2 separate regions of the Homo sapiens genome follow, and region 2 is linked to region 1. The links are contacts of gene promoters, found by promoter capture Hi-C in blood cells and fetal thymus (Javierre and others, 2016). All regions are on one chromosome and are shown on one strand. Each heading gives the region's core, a stretch centred on a gene start or on the middle of the fragment in contact. The rest is flanking DNA. Distances are from core to core; before and after follow the strand shown.

Region 1 (6,330 bases), core at 1,708-4,207:
AACAGGTCAAGTTTGCTAGCAAAGCTTTTACAAGCTCATCTCTTCAGGTCGAATCCCAGAGCCAGCCTTAATGAAGCAATAATAGCCACATTATTCAAAAATTTTCATTTCGATGGAAATGTATCTAAAAGGGACTTAATCATATGCAAATAATAAAAGGAGGTGGTAGTGACCCAGCAAGCAATATGCATACAGATTTTTTTTTTTCCCAGGGATGTTGAAATTGAAAAGCGCATACCTGGTCAGTTAGATTTGCTGATCTTGTTATATCTTCACTGTCTGATTTTGATCCTCCTTCTCTATCGTCTATCACCAAATCGATAGGCATTTTCCCTTTCAAACAGCTAATATACCGGTGGCAGAAATTGTCACATAATTCGTGTACCTACATTATGACAGAAATAAAAAAATGGGAATATAATCAGGAGTGCATAAATGACATTGACAAGTGCAATCCACCCCCCTTGTGAGATCCAAACTTCCAAATAGGGGAAACACAGGGCAATTGTCCTCCAGAGACCCCCAGACGCATCCAGAATTAGGAATAACTTTCTTTTCTTGCAAAATAGAGATATCCCAGAAAATTGACAGTGACAAGATGATTCACAGGCTACAACATATTCAACACCCGTGTTAAATTCATCTGCTCCTGGGGCTGTGGTCATTAGAGAGGTGACCTGCGTAGGTGACATTTAAGGTAAACTATTTAATTTCATCCAGTGACTTTATCATAAATCCCTTTCTAATGTGTCTAAGAAAAAAATGTATACGTGTGTATATATGCACATATATATTCTCCAAAGAACCTGTACTGTGGTGGCATAGGATAAATGCCTGACAACCCAAGTCCTTATTATATTTGTAATGAAGGTTTTTATCTCTAAGGGGTATATTTTAGAAAACTTTCTTTGAAAAAAAAATGGAAGGAAATCAAGTTGCCAGTACTCCTGATATGGGAAAACATACAGCCACACAAAAACATATCAAATTGATTTTTTTTTTTTTTTTTTTTTTTTACAAAAAGGAGAAGGAATGCCTCAAAATATTTAAGTGTAAGTGCAGAGGTTTCCTAGAGGTCCCAGGCATCACTGACATGCAAAAATTCACAAGAAACCCCAGTGTGCTTGCAATTTAATGTTAGTTTGAATTACAATGCATTAAGTTTTTATTGCTGAGATTTATAGAACAGCTAGCAAAATCATGTTATCCCACACCCTTTCTTGAGTGTGAAGGTGGAGTGTGTGCAGGATTCACAGATTCAAGAAATTGACACAACTATCAACTCTGCTTTGTCTCTGCAAAACGTTTAATGTGCCTCCCCACCACCTCCTCCAGACTCCTTCCCGCTCCTCCTCCTTCTCCCCTTCTGCCTCTCCCCTGTGTCTGATCTGCCCTTGCTCTCAAGACTGTCTTCCAGAAACTCACTACAACTGAATAAAACTTTTTTCTCCCTCAGAGGTAGCAAAGAAGAGAAGGAAGAGGATGAGAAGAGACAACAGAGGTATGAACTTGTGAAACAACCTCAGAGCAGCATTCGAAACATCAGCTGGGATGCACAGAATTGCAACTATTTACACAAAGCCAGCAAGTTATTAAGAATGAACACAAGGCTAGGGCGTTTGTGATCCCAGTTTTAGTGGCTGAAATTGTAATTAAACTGCGAAGAGAAATGGACGCTAAGATTGGCCTTGACACTAATTACCAGAAAGAAAGACATTTATGCAAATGTATCAGAAGGCTGAACTTCAGCCATTCGGAACCCTCCCCCCTGTGTGTTTGGGGGTAAGGGGTAAGTAAAAGGAAAAGAGGCTAGAGAAATTACCTTCTCTAATTCCAATAGATGAAACCTTAATACTTGTATGGCTTGAATCATCTGCAAAGATACAAAAACAATAAGCACCCCATTCCTGGCTTGCAGAAAACTGGCTGCCACAGCTCTACCATCTCCAGCCCACCCCCTCCCACCAGTAAATAGAGTTATTTTGATTTATGGCAATAACACTAAAACTTAATAGCAGCAACTGGGTACCATCTAGAGGTTTATATTTCTTAAGAAAAAAAAAACTAGCTAAAACAACAACACAGCATCTAAGTGAGGATCATAAACACTCTCCTCCCCCATGGCTCTCCCCTTTCTCAGTCCCACTGGCCCCACCCCACCCCAAAAGGGCCACAACACTGGACTACATGTGTCCTTGGAAGGAGTGGACAGAAAAATATTCCAAATGGCCCTCAAACTGTGGCTTTTCCCATTGCAAAGTTTCTGCTGCCTTCCTTACACCTTTCAGGCAAACTGGTTGTTTGGGGGCTCTTGTCCGGTGGCTGCCCTCGTGATGGGACTTAGAGGGCTAGGAAGTCCGCAAAGTTTAAGCACACATGCTGACAGGCCGGGAGATAAATCCCCGCGCTGATTAGAGCTGCGCAGCCCGGCTGTCATAAAAAACAAAAGCTCGCGTTTCCCCGCGCTGGCTCGCCCGGCCCCTCTCGAGATGAATTTATTTCCCCGGGATCTTGTCCCGGACCAGTTGTCCGTGTACAGAAACATTTGCAGCCAACCTGCAGGCACGGGAAGACCGGTCTAGAAATCTCAGGGCTCTCAAAGCAAAGCTGAGGGCGTTGGAGGTGGGAGGTAGGGGGTCGGGGGCGGGGGAGGGAAATAGGGGTCCGCTCTTACCAAGTTATCCAGTTCTGGATTAGAAGAAAATAGAGGTTTTTCTGCGCGAATCTAAATACAAGTGAGAAGGAGAGGGGAGAGGGAGGGGAGAGAAAAAAGAAAGAAAAATTTGAAATCTGGTCGCCTTCCTAGTTTCTTGCCTCATTACACTGTCGGGGGCAGGAAGTAACCCTCCGGGAGGGACCCGGTGACACCGAGTTCGTCCCGCGCAGAAACATTTCAGTGTGAATTAAATAAGCTGAAAACAAGCCCAGAGCTCAATCTTACTTCTACTAGCAACTACGGCTCTCGGGGAGGCTGCTCAGACCGCCGAGTCCACAGCAGCTACAACCGTGGTGTTCTTGATTTTATTCTGCAGAGTGAGCTCTCCACGTTTGCTTTCTGGAGGGTGAGTGGGGATGCAGATGGGTGATTTTAAGTTATCTGCAAACAGACACTCAGACAGAGAGAAAATCTGAGGTTGGAGGTAACATGCATGGCTTAAGGCCGACTACGTGCTGGCTACTTTTGAAAGTGTGCCGTGTGTGTGTGTGTGTGTGTGTGTTCGCGCGCGCGCGCGCGCGTGTGTGTTGGCGAAGGGGGGGCTCTCTTTTTGTTTCTTTTACTTTTTAACATCTATTTTGCTGACCTGTTTGGCGAACACGGCTATATCTTCATTGAATGACTCTGACGAGCAGACGTCCCCGCCCGCCACCCCCGGCTCGCGGGGGGTACAAGTAGCTAATTCACATTTCTCAAAAATCAGTGCTAAGAGAGGGAAGAGGGGGTGTCTGCAAGAAAATACAACAGTCACAAACAACATAATGGTTAGTCCCCAGTCAATGGAAAAAGGTGCCCAAGAAAAACAGCTGGAGGAGCAAGAGGAACAGACCCCCTCTCCGATTGTGTCATCTACTTTTTTCCTTTTCCTCCCCCTCCCCCAGACCCAGGTGACCGCTCACCTCCCCTTCCTCCTGGAGCCCTGAAGTCGGAGGCCCTGAGCCATGGACGGTATCTGAGGATCGGTTTAGCGTATCTGGCCGGAGAAATTGGCAACATTTGCTACGAATAAAACCCAAGCGTTTCCAGCAGCCATTTTGAATTAAGTTTCCCACCCGACAAGCCCTCGTCCCCTCCACTGCACATCCAGGATCCGGTGGAGGAGAAAGGCGCCGGGCGGAGAGTTGGGGAGGGCTGGTTCCTGCGGGTTCCTCCTAGGCGGCCGCGCGAAGCCCAGGCTCGGGGGATCTCGGTGGCAGGCGCTCAGCTAACTTGGGGAAAGGACGTCCATGGCCGTGGGGCCGACTGTCAACGGGCTGCACCTAGGGATCCCAACCCCAAGGCCCTCGGAGAGCCGGGAGGCTCCTCCTCAGCTCCACGCACATTCCCCTCCCTTCGCTGATAGCCCCCACCGCCCCCCAAAGAAAGTTCCTTCAAATGTTCCTGCAGTAGAGCCTTTCATTTTGTCTCTGCGAAGTGGCAAAGCAGCTAGTATTGCGAGGGGCCTAGATGTCGCTTGTCTCAGCCCATAAAAAAGAAAAAAAAAAAAAAAAGAAGAAGAAGAAGAAAGAAAGAAAAGCTTCTTCTAATGCCCAAGGAGGTATCTCAAGTCTTTTATTAGCTCTCACAGCTCAGCTGGGAATTTAACAGTTTGGGGTCCTTTACAAAGCTTCCCCAAATGTTCTGTCCCAGAGCCTAAACCACTTGTAGTTAACTCTGCGGACAGAACGGTGGGAATTAAACAAGCCCATCGCACAAGGGATCAGAAAATAAAATAAAAAGATTATATATATTTTTTTTTCCAGCGAGGGAGGGTCAGTGTGTCCTGATTTTTTAAAAATAAATAAATAGAAATAAAAGTTTCTGCAAAGTAAAAAGAGGTTCCCAAATTCATCGGCACACAGTAGGCACAAGTGAGTTTCAAAGGATTCTACTAGCCCAGGGTCTAATCGAATGGCGGAGGAGAAAGCAGTATAAACCGCAGCCAGAAAACAACCTCCGAGGAAGAGCACCCCGAATTTACTTATTTCTAAATCCTGCAGGTTTCGCCTTTGAGCACAAAGTGCTAAAACATCTAGAAGTTTCTTAATGTGTGTAACAATTCAGAGCAAGCTCCTCTCCTTGACTTCAGTGGTCAAACTCCCTAAATGCAAAACATGTTCCCCCTTGCTTGACCTGCAACTGTCCTGCTTTGGTTTTATTGTGCAGTGGCAGAGCCAGCATAAGGCTGCTGAGTAAACTCAGCAAGTCAGAACAATCAGTGGCTTAAAAGAGATTTTCCCTTAAACTAAAAGTTTCGTTACAACACAAAGGCGCCTGCATTTAGAAACCCCTAACGCTCTCGGGCGAAATCGAGCGAGGGAGGACTCCAGCCCGCTGAAGGAGTCTGAGAGGGGACAAGGGCCCTTTAGCCAGCTTCTTCTCATCTGGGACCCCCTTGCGGGCACTGCCATGGTGGAGCAGGGCACTGGATGTGCACAGAGTGTGTATGGGGATGTAGGGCTTCAGGGATGGCAGGCCACCTCCCCAAATTATCCATGAAATGTGAATGAAAAGTCACCAAAGATGTACCTCCAATCCAGAGAACTCTGACTTTCCTCTTACCAAGGGCACAGAGAAAGAGGGAAGCGTTGAGTCTCAACTACTTAACCTGCTGCCCATTGTACCTACCCATAAATGGCATCTTTATCTCTCTTTAAAGCGTCATTGACAGAGGAGCCCATGCTGGGGGCCATGGCGTTGGTATGAGCTGTGTGCGGGTACTGATGCGAGTGCAGAGGAGGCCCGTGGTTCAGGTGGTGGACCGGCTGCATGGACCTGGCTGCATGCGGGTCCCCATACATCGTGGAGGGGATGCCTACTCCATCCATGCCCCCGTAATGGGGTAGATCGTCGTACTGCATGACAAACAGGAGAGAAAGAAGGTTCAGGAGGCCAGGCGGGCAAATGGGAGAACGGCAAGGCACCGAGCTTATATAAGGTCAATACAGCTGGGTCCTTCCACCCGGAATTCGGTGGCCTTGCATCTATAAAGCTGAGTTTTTCTTATTTTAAAATTAAAGCTTTAAGTAAAAAATACAGAATTCTCAGCGAGACTCGTCTGGGATGAATGATCTTGCCCTAACTTGTGTCCCTATCAACTAGTTTAGAAATTCAGGCTCCTTTGGCAAGAAGGAAAGAAGAAAGAAAGAGAGAAAGAGAAGCATTCTCCCGAGGGTAGAAGGTGAAACGGGCATGTCTCTGGAGGAAGAAATTCAAAATCACAATAATAAAACGTGCCAGGACACTGCAGCAAACCCGCCTAGTTTCACAGCCCCTTCACATCAGGGGGAATTAAAAAAAAAAAAAAAAGTTACGATGGGAACAGCTACGCAAAGCACGTGAATTTAGACAGGCTTCTCATTTTATTTCCCTGCCAGCGTGAGGTTAGGCAGTCCTACAAGACACTGCATTTCTTTTGCTTTCCAAGACAAACTCTGCTAAATTATACAAAACTAACTGACCCCTTATAAGTGAAACTCAAAGGAGGGTAGCTTTTCCTGAACATCAGAGCTGAATTTAGAATTGGGCAATTCCCCACCCCCAAAGTTAAAGAAAATCTATAGTTGAAGCAGCTAATATTCTATTTTCTTATTTACTCTTATGAACTTTGTTTCCAGACTAGAAGTCAAGGAGGC
Region 2 (6,330 bases), core at 2,306-4,805, 1.5 Mb before region 1:
TTTAATATCAATTTACTCAAAATTATGAAACAGCTTGTTGAGAGGACAGGGGATTGAAAGTATGTGTTAGGTTGAAATGGTGTTAGGGTAAATGCCAGAGACTGAGGGCAATGAAAAAAAGTTGAATCCTCATTTAGATAGTTGGAAGTCAGTAGAGAATTCTGAACTTAAATATCAAGAAGTAGTAGACTAGTACAAGCTTGTTATTTAGAGGCATAGAAACAAATGGAAAAATAATCTGCTACAAGATTTGGAAGTGTTTGCTTCTGGGAAGCATGGGATGAGAGGGTAGTGATTGCCATTTTAAAAGAAATCTTATGGAACTATGTGTTGTGACATATTTTCAATTCTAGGGCCATCTTTTTTTCTGTTTCTATTTTTAATGCTCCTTCTGTTTTCTATTTTTTGCCATACACTGTGTGTTTTCTTCAGTGTCACTTCAAGTTGAAGATAGTGGTATGTGTTTATATCTTCTGTGTTTATGTATGGGCAGCTAAGAGGCTATATCTTTCTCCTCTAAAGGGAGTGGTTTACAGCATCTCTTGGTTGGGGATTACCTGCCTGTGGAATTGAGCAGAGATGTTGCAGATATTCCTGTCTGAAAAATGCTGAAAGGGTCTCTTCCACTGACTCTATTGTTACATGATATGACATATGATATTGACATATGATATGTCAATATGTATATCCCTTGGACCCCCAGTTCTAACTCCTAGGTCCATTCTGGACAAAACAATAGTAGATGTTTCTACAAATAGGAGTTGGGTGTTTCTGAAACATATGTCTTCCAAGCTCATTATTGTCTGTTATGCGCATAGAAATTTCTAGTCATTAGCAAGAAGCTTGCACATTCAATAGCATTCAATAAGAATTGGTTGGCTCATTATCCACTTTCACACCCTGCACATTGCTAATGAAAATCTCATCCTTTTTGTTCACCTGAATCCTGCTTATCTTTCAAGGCCAAGCTCATATTATCATTCACTCAGTGAATTACTCATCTTCATCAAGTCTTTATGGATCACCTATTCTGTACAAGGCATTGGGGATACAGCAGTGAACAAAATACTCAGTTACTGTCCCTCATGGAGCTTACTTTCTAGTCTAGAAAGTAGACTTCAAACAATTAGTAACACAAGTGGTAAGTGTTGTGATAAGTGATAATTTGTGATAAATGTTTTTAAAGGGCAAGTATGGTATATCAAGAGATCATTGGTCAATGTAACTTGACCTTGTGCATGCTGTGTAGGGGAAGGAAGGTTAGAGAAGGTATCTCTGAGTTCAAGGTGTTGATGCTGAGAGCTTAGGATGAGCTGGAATAAGCTAAGCAAGGTTGGGGAGGGGCCTTGTAGACAGAAGGGGCAGCTTGTCAGAAGGCTCTGGGGGTCAAAAGGAGCAAGACAACTTTGAGGAAAGTCAAGGTGGCTACTGTACAGGGCTATTCACAGAAAGGGGAGCATGGAATCTGAGTAGATATGTAAGCAGGGCAGGTGATGCAATTCTGTGATAAGAATTTCTGATTTTATCCTAATAACAAGTGTACACCATTAGAATTTCTGATTTTATCTTAATAACAAGGGTACCTTGTTGAAGATGTTTAGGCAGTGACAAAGGAATGACATGATATTAGTGTTTTAGAACTTACTCTGTGCTATTTCAGTTGTCTGTGTGGCTGATGATGCTGTGCAGACCTCGTTGGAGACATTAAGTTAGAGAGAAGACCGTGCACCCAGGAGGCACTAAGAAGGAAGATTTAGGAGACATGTGTGATGATAGAGAGGAAAGTGTCATGATTTAGGCGAATACTGTATGTCCTGTTTTGTGATATTCACTGGAAATACTGCTTCCAGGATACAGATAGTTGGGGATAGCAGTGATTTGGATCTTTCAGGACTGGGGTTTTATCAGGCAAGTGGAATAGAATGAAGGCAGCAATTGACTATGAATCTTTTCCAGGGAATAATTGATAATGGTAGACTCTAAACTCCAGGATGAGTTAAGAAAGATGTGAAAGCAGGAAGGACTGATAGAAGGTGAAAGGATCATGGATTTCCTAATTTTCTGTAGGGAAAGACTTCTTGTGAGGGTACTCGAGCTAGTAACTTGAAGGGACTGGGATGTTTGAATTAATAATGTTAGAGTGATGCAGAGATAAGGGTGTGGTTAAGGAGGCAGTGGCTCAGTTGGTGGGAGGAGCAGGTGGCTGGAGATGAGATCAAGGCCCTGGGACACTGCATAAGCGTGTGTGGGGTGTGCAATGCAAAATTACAGTGGGCACCATTCACATCAATGACAATGTTCTTTATGTTCCTGGAGCTGGGCAGTGTGGTGACCATGCCAGGGGATGGACACACATGGTGGTGGATAAGAATTTCACACAGGGGTTGAAGTCACTGGGAAAGATAGCAAGAATTGGGTGAAGAAAAATGCTGTGAGTCAGGAGATCTGTAGATGACAGCAATGAAGAGGAGAAGAGGTGGCAGGACCAGAAGCCTGGATCCTCAAAGGATCAGGGATCTTGGCCAGAGGCCAGAGCAGTAACTGCCTGGAAGCAGCACTGGGAATAACATTACCTCCTGACTGTGAGGTTTGAGAAGAATGCAACAGAGTTTCAGAGGAAATTTGTGTTCAACAGACAGCTGATTCTCAGTATAGAAAAGGAAGGAAAGAACATTTGGAGGATAGGAGAGGTGCAGGTATTTGCTGATATTGGAGTAAGAGGTCTAGAGGGAACAGTGGAAGGATTTGGAAGGGAAGTTAGGAGTAGGGGTTTGGGTCTGGGGCAAGGAAACACTACACATGGTGTGGATGGTAGGAATGCAGAGGAGAGGTCATGGAGGGTCTGTGTACTTTGGGGGTAGATCAATAGGAGTGTAGTGGACAATGCCCAGGAGGAGAGTAGCCACTGGGCCAATGAACAGAGGTCCTGGCTTACCAGGTCTGGGGTGGTCACAGTCCAGCAAGAGCGGAGCCCCTTGGAGGAGTAAGAGTCCTCTTCGGTTCTCAGCTTATGTTCCTGGGGTAGTGAAAGGGAAGCTTCTTGGCTTGGGCAGCTAGGGAGAGGTGCCAGCTAAGTCACTTCCTCTACAAAGTGTCCCCTTTTTTTTCCAATAGAGAAAAATGTCTCTCTCACCTCTCCACACCCAATTTATCAGCAATATGGCCTGTGATTCTCTTGGCATTTCCACAACCTTGTAACGGTATCTTTTTGCTAGGTATTTGTTTACTCACCAAGATTAGAAACATCTTGAGGACAGGAATGATATCTTTTGTCCTTATCAGGACCTTGCATGGCACTCAGTAGATATCTGTAGGCTGGTTACTATACTGACATCCTGTGCGTTCTAACCCCATCTACAAGCTCTATTAGTCATAAATCCTTGAGTTTCAAGTCACAGAAACCTAACTCAAACTAATGTAAGCTAAAAGGTCATGGAAAGCTATCATGGGAACCCCATCTCCCCTCCCACCCCTGACTCTACCATGTCTCATTTCTGCACTTTGATTCTGCCTTGATTCAGTTCTTTCCAGTGGCAAAGATAGCTACTGTCAGCTACGAACTTACTTTGTTTTCACATTTTCTGATTAATTCCAGATTAAAAAAAAGAGTGTCTATTTCCTGAGGGCTCCAGCTATAGTCCTTGGGGTGGCCATGATTGGTCAGGCTTGGGTTGTGGTCTCTCCTCTGAAACCATCTTTGTGGTTAGGGCTTGGGATACTCTGGGCCTTGTCGTCACACCTGTGATGGGAGAGTCAAGGCTGTGTGGTAGCCAGCCCCACTAGACCAGAGAATCAGTGTTTGCAAGAAAGCAGAGTGGATATTTGCTACAATGCTGATTTCCAGCGATAAGGAAGAGAAAAACGGCTGCTGAGACTCTGTAGTCTCAAAGGAGGTATTAACAGTATAAAGCAGGGAGTAAAGAGGAAAGAAAAAACTTTTTTTTTTTTTAGCACGCGGTGTTTGCTAAGTACTACATTCTTTACAGGTTCTACTCTCATTCGATCCTCCCAGTGATTCAGTAAGGCAGGTAGGATAGGATCATTTTAAGTTTAAAGAAGAAGAATTGAAGCTTGGATAGCCTAGGCTGTGGATCAGATTCAAATCCTGAATTATCTGACATCAAAAGCCCTATGCTTTCCTTTAATCAAGGTTTCTCAACCTCAGCACTTGGACATTTGGGGGGGCCAGATAATTCTTTGTTTGGTTATGGGGGCTGTGCTGTGCATTGCTGAATGTGTAGCGGTAACCCTGGCGTCTACCCACTAGATGCCAGCAGCAATCCCATTTGGTTGATTCAATCAAAACCATCTCCAGATATTGACAAATGTCCCTAAGGGGCAGGCTGGGGGGTGGTGGGAAAATTATCCTGCTTGGGACCAGTGGCTCTAAATCATGCAGCTGAGTGAATTCAAAGTCGTGGTGCCTAAAAATGTATTCACCGGCAGCCGGGAAATACCATGAAGGATCATGTCTTTACATGGTCATATGCTTCTGTGTGTTTTATAAAACTGCAGTGCTCATGTGAGTGAGCGCTCTAATCCAGCAGGAGACAGTAAATTGTTGGTCAGATAAAGTCCTTTTCGTTGTCCTTAGTTTACAGAGACGTTTCCTCATTTGGAGTGCCCTTCCAGAAAACAGCCTCAGAATCAGATAGAGCTTCTAATATTAAATCGAGGGAAAAGGTGGTAAATTGCAAAGTGCTTGGCTCCATGTGACACAGTCTAGGTAAAATGAAAGTGGGAGGATCTCTGCTGTAACTGCCCCCAAAAGCAATTTGGCGTGTGTACAAAGTTGTGTTTCTGAGAGCAGTGGAGATGCCCCTTCTATGTGGAGAAAAGGTTAGCGAGGCTTGGGTGAATGGAGCCCAAGAGGAACTTGGCACCAGCTCCTGCTGACTTCATTCCTCCTGCCAGTCGGAGCTGATTTGTAAGGCTGTGTTTGGTGCCAGGGACTGGGTGGGAAAGGGGAAGTAAATTCAAACAAAAGAATGCCCCTGATGTGTCTGAAAAGAGGCTTTTAGCACCATTCTTTCAGTGCTCTCAACCAGACTGAAGGTGCAAAAATTTAAAAAGCAGCCCCAACCACTTAGGAGAATGGTAGAATGTATCCAACACAGTGATATTATCACATCTATTTGTTGGACAAAGAACTTCATTGTATAACAAAATAAAACATGTTTCTCCTTCCAGTTCCTGCTTTGTGACAAATCTTCAAAAATGAGCTTACAAAGGAGCAGCCTGGAAACTTGGCAAGGGTTGTTTTTAGACAAGCTCCTTCCAAAATATCTGATTGAAAGGGTTTTCAGACTGTTTTCCTGGCCTGCTGTGCAATTTGCAAACAATTTCTTTTTTGATCAGTTGTCGGGGGAGGAATTGATAAAAGTACTTGAAACTCATTTCTCACATGTATAGACAAACCTCTTCCAAGCTCATTAATGTCCGGCATGGATAGCAAGTACATATTCTTGCGTTCATTTTGGAGTCCACCTCTGAGCCTAGTCCTGGCCATGAGGAAGGTCTAGTCCTGGCTATGAGGGCTATCACCTGCTCCTCCTCCCTTCATCTACACAGTGAACCTCATGGACACCTTCCAATGATCTGGCGAATTCTAGTGGTTAAATCCTTTGTTTTCAGGGTATCATTAGAGCCTCAGATTTCCTTAGAAATGAAATACTCTACATGATCTGAAGATGAAATTAATTCTCCCCAGTATAAATCCAGTCAAGAAATTCTTCCTAAGGATGGTTACCAGAGTCTGGGAAGGGTTGTGGGTGATGGAGGGTTGGGGAGGATGGTTAATGGGTAAAAAGAAAAAACAAAACAAAACAAAGAATGAAATAGGACCTAGTATTTGATAGCACAACAGGGTGACTGACTATAGTCAATAATAACTTAATTGTACATTTAAAACTAACTAAAAGTGTATAATTGGATGATTTGTAACACAAAGGTTAAATGCTTGAAGGGATGGATACCCCATTCTCCATGATATGATTATGATGCATTGCATGCCTGTATCAAAACATCTCATGTACTCCATAATATACCTATTAACCTAAAGGCTATTATGTACCCACAAAAATAAAACATATAGATTAATGGGGGAAAAAAAGAAAGAAATTCTTCCCAGTCAAGAAATCTAGGTTCAGTATGTAAGGCTATTTTTCATGAGTGTAAAAACTGCTTAGCTTATCTCAAAAAGTTATATATTGTATGATTCTGTGTATATAACGTCTCAAAATGACAAAAAGATAGAAATGGGGACCAGATCAGTGGTTGCCAGGGATTAGGTAAGGGAGCCAGAATGCGACTCTAAAAAGGGTAGCAAGC

Evidence for each region. The method cuts DNA at HindIII sites, captures the fragments that hold promoters and counts their contacts. A CHiCAGO score of 5 or more calls a contact.
Region 2: a contact is called between a fragment that was not itself captured here and the fragment with the promoter of MEIS1-AS2 in region 1, in 1 of 17 cell types (M0 macrophages). The highest score is 7.2, in M0 macrophages.

The regions. Positions count from the first base shown.
Region 1 is chr2:66,436,957-66,443,286 of GRCh38, reverse strand. MEIS1-AS2 (MEIS1 antisense RNA 2) reads left to right here and starts at 2,957. Exons shown (of 2, transcript NR_046625.1): 1 at 2,957-3,062; 2 at 3,598-4,200. MEIS1 (Meis homeobox 1) reads right to left here. Exons shown (of 13, transcript NM_002398.3): 2 at 5,324-5,550; 3 at 3,303-3,444; 4 at 2,675-2,725; 5 at 1,823-1,873; 6 at 239-385. RefSeq lists enhancers at 1-847, 2,647-3,846. The HindIII fragment of the contact is 4,208 bases long and covers 27-4,234 here.
Region 2 is chr2:67,973,642-67,979,971 of GRCh38, reverse strand. No RefSeq gene overlaps it. Among named protein-coding and RNA genes, the nearest start is that of C1D, 86 kb to the left of the region's middle. The HindIII fragment of the contact is 1,034 bases long and covers 3,039-4,072 here.